2 separate regions of the Homo sapiens genome follow, and region 1 is linked to region 2. Evidence: promoter capture Hi-C in 16 types of primary human blood cells and fetal thymus (Javierre and others, 2016). All regions are on one chromosome and are shown on one strand. The core of a region is centred on a gene start or on the middle of the fragment in contact, and the rest is flanking DNA. Distances in the headings are between cores, read along the strand shown.

Region 1 (4,003 bases), core at 949-3,448, 210 kb after region 2:
AACGGGAAAGCAAGCTGAGGGTTTAGTGCTTGCTGAGGAGTCTCAGTCTCACCTGGAGGCAATGGGTGACTCGGAGGGTGTGTGAGCAGGACGAGGGGCTCCTAGCTGTGTTTTGATAAGATGACTCTGGAAGCAGTGAAGATGCTGTAATCAGAAGAGGAGATTGAGCCAAGAAGTCTTGGTAAGCTCTTTATAACAGTCCAAGTTTACAACATTAGGGGCCCAACTAGGGACAGGGCAGTGACATTGGAAATGGAGCATTGTGGAGCTGTTTGGGATATTACCAGGGTCAGAGGTCCAGGTTCCTGGAAGGGATTGATGACATTAAGCAAGAAATGTACAGCACTTTGACTTTGACATTTCCACAACACCTTCCCCTCCCTTTCCTCATACCTGGGCTACAGCTGTCTCCCTAGGAGGGCTGCTCCCCTACCATGCAGTCTCTTCCCCACTCTGATCCATTCTCCAAAGCTTCCAAATGCTCCAAATGCATTTCCCCACTAGCTCAAGAACCTGTAGTGATTCCAGTCCAACTCATCGGATTCCTGGCAGAAAACGGAGAGGAAGCACTTCTGATCACTAACGGTCATTCCGCTGCATCTGCCTTCCAACCCCATTTGGGCCCTGGTGGCAGCCAAGCTCTGTCTCCCAGCATATGTGAGTCCTGTGCTGGTGTTTCCTTATGGTGCCCTACTCCCCTCCATTCCTCAAGATCCCTTGCTTTCCTCAAAACCCACCTTGGAAGTCGTCTCTAGAAAACTCTGCCCCTTCAGGGGCTGCCTCAACTGTAGCCCACAAATGACCATTGCCAACTGGACAAGCCCCCCAACTTTGGCTCCCTGTCCCCTCCTCCCCACTGAAGACTAGCAGCACAGAGTTGGCCCTGCTGCCCAAAGGGGCTGCATCTGGGCCCCCCGACCTGGCAGAAATGATGGCTCCCTGAATCTCTCTCCAGCAGATGACAAGAAGACAGAACTCTGCGTCTGCGAGCTGCAGAGACTCCTGCCTCCCCAAGTCCCTGGCTTTCACTCTATGTCCCACCCATTCTGCAAGGAGTCAGGGGGTGGAATGTTCTAAGACGCCAACCTGTCACTGAAGCTCCCACTCCACTCTGCTGACACCTGACTGCCCAGAGGACTCACGGGGCCGGGGCAACCTGCCATCCCTGGTGTCAGCAATCTACCAAAGAAGTGAAGCCTCCGAGATTTCTTTGACCAGGAGAGAAGAAGGTATTCAGCAATGCAGAGAAGATAAATACTGCAGATTAGATAACTGGACAACACGCTTGAAATTATTCAGTGGCACAGCCATCTTTTAATTACCTTGGAACGGGAGATAAGAGTAATGGAAAGCTACAGATAATTCATTAGTTTCTAAAAACCTTGCACATCCAATGTGCCATTTGAAGTCGATGCTTACAAGACACAGAAGAGGCTGGTGAAGGGTTTTCAGGAAGGAAGTAAAATCCAAACAACAGGAAAAACACAATTTGTTCTTCATAAATGCTAAGTGCGGCACAATGCAGTTATTAGCCACAACTCTACACACTCTTTCCCATTAATGGATAAGTTAAATCTTTTCCAAGTGTGACAAGTGGCATCCAATCACTCCCTAGGGATTTTCTGTTCTTTAGCCACTTACCAGTCACAATAGATTTTTCTGCAGTTCCATTTAAAACGTTATTCTCTGGGGGGTCTTCTAGTTTACTTTGAATAGCCTGTAACAAATATTCCCAACCAAGAGCAGATAGGCTTGCTCCAACCCACTCTAACAGAGAGAGAAGTCTGCCCAGCCCAGGTATTAAATGACTTCATGACTACAAAACAGCAGGGTGGAGCCAGGCCAGCTCCAAAGCTAATTCAGCTCTCTCACTTTTACAGATGAGGACAGTGAGTTCCAGGAAGGGAAAAGGACATGTCCAAGGTCACGCGAACTAACAAGTAATAGAATCTACACCAGATCTGGATCCCTTAAGTTCTGAGACCATATCTAATTTTAAATAGACATTTTCTTTCTATTTTCTGGTTCTTTCTACAGCCTGAGGGGGCATGAGATGCTCCACCCAGGTCCCCCTTGAAGGAAAGCCTTAGGGCCTGGCTGTGGGAAGCATGGTCAGCACAAAGCTGCTAGCTCTCAGTTCCTTCGGGATCTGCCTCGACTAGAGATGTCTGTGCCACTGGAGGCTGCATCCTTCCTGGGAAACCCAGCACCCAGTGACAGAGGTGGGTGGGGTACAAAGGCCCAGCCATTTCTGCCCAGCAAGGGCTACACCGAGGCCTAATATTCACTCCACGGCTCCCCAATGCCACTCTCTCCAGAATGTGGTCTTCCTGCCTCCCCAACCAATGATGCAGCAGGAGAGGGAAATGAGACGCCTGGGGTGGCTGGACCATCTCCTTGCAGGCCTCTGCCCAGCAACCCCAAACTCACACCCCAGACCCCTTCAGTTCACTTGGAATGGAGCAGGTTCCAGGAGCTGGCCAAGCAATTGCATGTGAGCACATAGATGCCCTTGTGCCTTCTCCTGGGGAGCTATGGGTCACTCATATCCTTGTGGCATTGATAGCATTTGTTGGTTTTGCTTAAAGAGGTAGGAAGTTTAAAAAAATAAGGCATGATTTGGCAGAAAAGCACAAGACACTTGGGTTCCAGTTATTTGAGCATTTGTGGGTGAAGTGACCCTATGTCCAGTATGCCTGGTTCGTGCCTGTCACCCCAGGGTCATTATCAATAGCGCTGCCTTTCACCCTCAAATGCCTCAAATACCTCAATTGTGGCCACCCCATGCAAAAGCCATAGTACCTCAGAGCAAGTCTATCTGGCTGTCTATCCTCCTCTCCGGTCTTGGATATTTTGAGAGAGAGAGGAAGATGGTGTCCTGGGTGGTAAGTGGAAAGAATGCCCTTCCAGGACAGACTTGGGTTTGAATGACCTCTGGACCAGGCACTAGCTCAGAGACTTTGGATGAGTTCCCAGCCTCTTACTGCCTTATCTGAGAAATGGAAGTAATTAAACACACCTAGCCTTTCATGCATGGTTGTTGAGAACACCGAGTCAAATACTTGTTACAAAGTTTCTCTGGAAACTGTGAAGCCCTATTCAGATGTAAGTATGGACAAAATGCCTAGCAATAAGTATTTGCTAAATGATTGAATGCTTGACTCATTGAATGGGTGGAATGGGGGGAATGTTAGGTATAATTATTATCAATGTGTGACAATGATAAAACAACAACCAGGTTTTTTTTTTTTTCAAGTTGATGGGTCACCCCTCGAGAGGTAAAGTCTATTCCCCTAGTCTTGAATATGGGCTGGACTTAGGGACACATTTCTAAGGAAGACAACAGAAAACAGCACAAGTGACACTGCATGTGTTCCAAGGCTAGACTATGAAAGGTACTTTAGCCTGGCTCTCTCTTGGGACGCTTGCTCTTCAATCCCTGCTGCCATGTTGTGAAGAAACCCAGGCAACAATGGAGAGGCTGAGTATATTCATTCTAGTCCTCAGCCCCAGTGGAGGTCCTGGCAAACAGACAGCATCAACAGACAGCCTTTGAGATGACTGCACCTCCCATCAATGTCTTATTGCATCCTCACAAGAGACCCCCAGTGAGAACCACCTCCTGAGCTCAGTCAGCAATAAATGATTGTTTTGTGTTTAAAAAAAAAAGTCAATGGGAATGTGTTCTGAAAGCAAGATGCATCTCTTGGAGCAAACTGCCTCCCAAGGATATGAGAAGGGCCAAGCTAGGTATGACTCTCTGCCTCTGCAGCTGGAAATGTACAGCCCTGACAGCAGCCTCTGGGGTGCGCCACCCAAAGCATTCCATTTTCTCTAATAGCCAATTATAACTGTCATCTCTGCAAGTATCTTAATCTTTGAAATTACTTTTGCAGGCACTACCACCTCTTGGGATAATGGTTCCATAAGCTTCTTCCCTATGAAACTCCTCCAGAATTTGAAAAATAAATGCATGTCCACTTTATCCACTGCTCTTACCATT
Region 2 (3,569 bases), core at 273-2,772:
AAGCTAATGAGGCATAAGATGACACTTCCCTCCTTATCAGGAATTCATACACCTGCCAGCAATTTCTGCAATAGCTGTTTTCTTTTGGGAGGAATGATTAATGACTTGCCTAAGATCACACTGTTCTGTAAAATTCAAACTAAAACCTGATTCTCCCCATTTCTAGCCCACTGGCCTTTTTACATAGCCTTAAAATTCACTTAAACAGCCTGAGCATGGTGGCTCATGCCTGTAATCCCAGCACTTTGGGAGGCTGAGAGGAGAGGGGATCCCTTGGGCCCAGGAGCTTGAGACCAGCCTTGGCAACAAAGTGAGACCCTCATCTCTACAATTTTTTTTTTAATTAGCTGGGCATGGCAGCATGTATCTGTAGTCCCAGTTATTCAGGAGGCTGAGGCAGGAGGATTACTTGAGCCCAGAAGGTGAAGATTACAGTGAGCCATGTTCATACCACTGCACTCCAGCCTGGGTAACAGACCGAAGCCTCAAAAACAAACAAACCAAACCCCCAAAATTCACTTAAGCAAACAGAAAAGTAAAATTCACTTTCCCTCAAGAAATAACTTGCTTTAAGAAAATCAAAGGAGAGAGAAGAGACAAATGTCCCATATACAGAAGAATTCCAAATAATTTACGTAGCTACTCCATCCTCAAGGAGGTAGAATAAAACTCCCTGCTCCTTAAGTGTGTGCTGTGCATAGCAGCTTCTTTCCAAAGAGAACACGGCGGAGATTGGAGCAGGGAAAGGATCACCTTATAGCAGAGAAACCAGACAAGCGCTGCCTCTACCAGGTGGTCAAGGTCAACACCAACAGTCCTAAATCATGTTGACAATATTATCCCTTGATATGATGTGATGAGAACAGCACTTTAACTCTGGGACTCCTTCCCCAAAACCCATAACTCCAGTCTAATAATGAGAAAAACATCAGACAAATGCCAATAGGAGAAGCCTACAAAATACCCAACCAGTACTCCTCAAAACTGCCATATTCATCAAAAACAAGGAAAGTCTGAGAAACAACGCTACAGCTAAGAGGAGCCTAAGGGAACATAACTAAATATAATGTGCTATCCTGATAGGATGCCACAGTAGAAAGCAGACGTTAGATAAAAACCAAGAATCTGAATCAAGCACAGACTTTAGTTTAAGAATAACGTATCAGTATCGGTTCATCAGTTGTAACAAATGTACCACACTAATACAAGATAATGGGGAAGTTGGGTGGGAATTACATGGGAATGCTCTAAACTATCTTCTCAATATTCCTGTAAACTCAAAACTGTTCTAAAAATTAAGGTCCATTTTTAAAAAATCAACCACAAGTTACAGTACAAATTACATAAAAGAAACAACTTACCAGATGTCACTGAACAGAAAAAAAAAAAAAAAGTTCTGGTTTGGTTACAGGAGTCCACAGAGGAGATGGTGGCAGCTTCTCCTTGGTTCAGGTATTTGGAACCAGCTGGGGTACGTAGCCCTTTGGGCCACAATCACAAAGCCACGTTTACACAGCAGAAGTGAAACCAACTTGCCATCAGGGAGCTATTTACCATGGTCTCCTCCCACAGATACTGATTTATTCTGTCTTCTTTCACTTAAATCTAAATTCACCAGGCACGGTGGCTCACTCCTGTAATCCCAGCACTTTGGGAGGCTGAGGCAGGCAGATCACTTGAGGTCAGGAGTACAACAGCAGCCTGGCCAACATGGTGAAACCTTGACTCTACTAAAAATACAAAAAAAAAAAAAAAATCAGCCAGGCGTGGTGGCAGAACCCTGTAGTCCCAGCTACTCAGGAGGCTGAAGCAAGAGAATCACTTGAGCCTGGGAGGTGGAGGTTGCAGTGAGCCAAGATCGCGCCACTGCACTCCAACCTGGATGATGGAGCAAGACTACATCTCGAAAAAAAAAAAAATCTAAATGGTACATGAAACGGGGATCTTGCACCCTTCTCTGCCATGTTCCTACAAGTAGACAGATGTCTTTTTTCCTTTCCAAGTGCATCACTGCATCCTTCCACAGCATCTTTTCTCTGAGGGTGAACAATATTCAGATGACTGGTTCACTGGAGCAGACAGGAAAAATGCCCCAGTTCCAAGACAGACAAAGCACTGGCTCCCCGACACCCAACTATAAGACATGACTGGGAGAGATGGAGGATATGAGATAATAAATATAAAGTTATTCTTGACCCAAAGTCTTAAAATTCACCAAAAATAACATTTGCCAAAAATAAAACAACATTGGATTGTTTGAGTGTAGAAATGAGTGATATACCGCTTTACACCTCTTTCTGGAACTTAAATTTTAAATCCGTATATTTTTATGTCTTTATTTAGTTAGAGACAAGGTCTTGCTCTGTCACCCAGCCTGGAGTGCAGTGGCGTGATCATAGCTCACAGCAGCCTCGACCTCCCAGGCTCAAGCCATCCTCCCACCTCAGCCTCCTGGGTAGCTGGGACCATGGTCATGCTCCATCACGCCCATCTAATTTTAAATTCATATTTTTAATAAACCCAGAAAACAAAAATTTGAAAGTGCTGTCCAGGAGAGAAGAAAATAAAACCCACTCCACTTTGCTGTGTCTGGCAACCCAAACCATCACATCACATACAGGGAAAAAGTTGTCCCTTGAACCCTCAGCTTCAGGGTGTGTGTTACCTTTTTTTTTTTTTTGTGAGACACAGTCTTGCTCTGTCACCCAGGCTAGAGTGCAGTGGCGCCGTCTCAGCTCACTGCAACCTCCGTCTTCCGGGTTCAAGAGATTTTCCTGCCTCAGCCTCCTGAGTAGCTGGGACTACAGGGGTGCGTCACCATGCCTGACTTTTTTTTTTTTTAATTTTAGTAGAGACAGGGTTTCACCATGTTTGCCAGGCTGGTCTCGAACTCCTGATCTCATATGATCCGCCCACCTTGGCCTCCCAAAGTGCTGGGATTACAGGTATGAGCTACTGTGCTGGGCCAAGGGTGTATGTTACCTTTAAAGGCCAACTCAGTCATTACCAAGACAACCCTCAGTACTCTAGGTATGTATTTAGTCTGAAGAGGGGATTCAGAAGGTAAAGAGGTCAGAACAGGGAAAGAATTGAAGATAAATGTTTAGACTGTGGTCTTAAAAACTGCTTTGAACTTTTGGCAAGATGACGTCCCTCCTCCATAAGAAAACCACAGAAACACCAGGCTAAAGTTCAGAACAAAGAAAGTCAGCACAAATGCCATCCTGGATGCTGAGTCTTATACTGATCTCTCTAGGCAAAATCACACCTTACGCTTACATTCATGTCACGTGTGCTCAGCTCTCCCTCTACTGGCTATTTCTTAGCTTCAACAGTTAACCACAAATGCTACTAAATTACTTAATTATTAAAATTAATTTTGAGCATTTTTAAAGCTTCCTGGGGCAAGGCCCAGTGGCTCACACCTGTGATCCCTGCATTTTGGGAGGCCGAGGTGGACAGATCACCTGAAGTCAGGAGCTTGAGACCAGCCTAGCCAACATGGTGAAACCCTGTCTCTACTAAAAATACAAAATCTAGCCGGTCATGGCAGTGTGTGCCTGTAGTCC

What was found. Contacts are between HindIII fragments. The CHiCAGO score rates a contact against its expected background, and 5 or more counts as called.
Region 1: a contact is called between a fragment that was not itself captured here and the fragment with the promoter of NUGGC in region 2, in 2 of 17 cell types (M1 macrophages and endothelial precursors). The highest score is 5.7, in M1 macrophages.

Annotation. Positions count from the first base shown.
Region 1 is chr8:28,295,304-28,299,306 of GRCh38, forward strand. No RefSeq gene overlaps it. Among named protein-coding and RNA genes, the nearest start is that of PNOC, 20 kb to the right of the region's middle. The HindIII fragment of the contact is 3,459 bases long and covers 470-3,928 here.
Region 2 is chr8:28,082,414-28,085,982 of GRCh38, forward strand. It overlaps NUGGC (nuclear GTPase, germinal center associated), which reads right to left and starts at 1,523. Exons shown (of 19, transcript NM_001010906.2): 1 at 1,362-1,523. The HindIII fragment of the contact is 3,402 bases long and covers 1-3,393 here.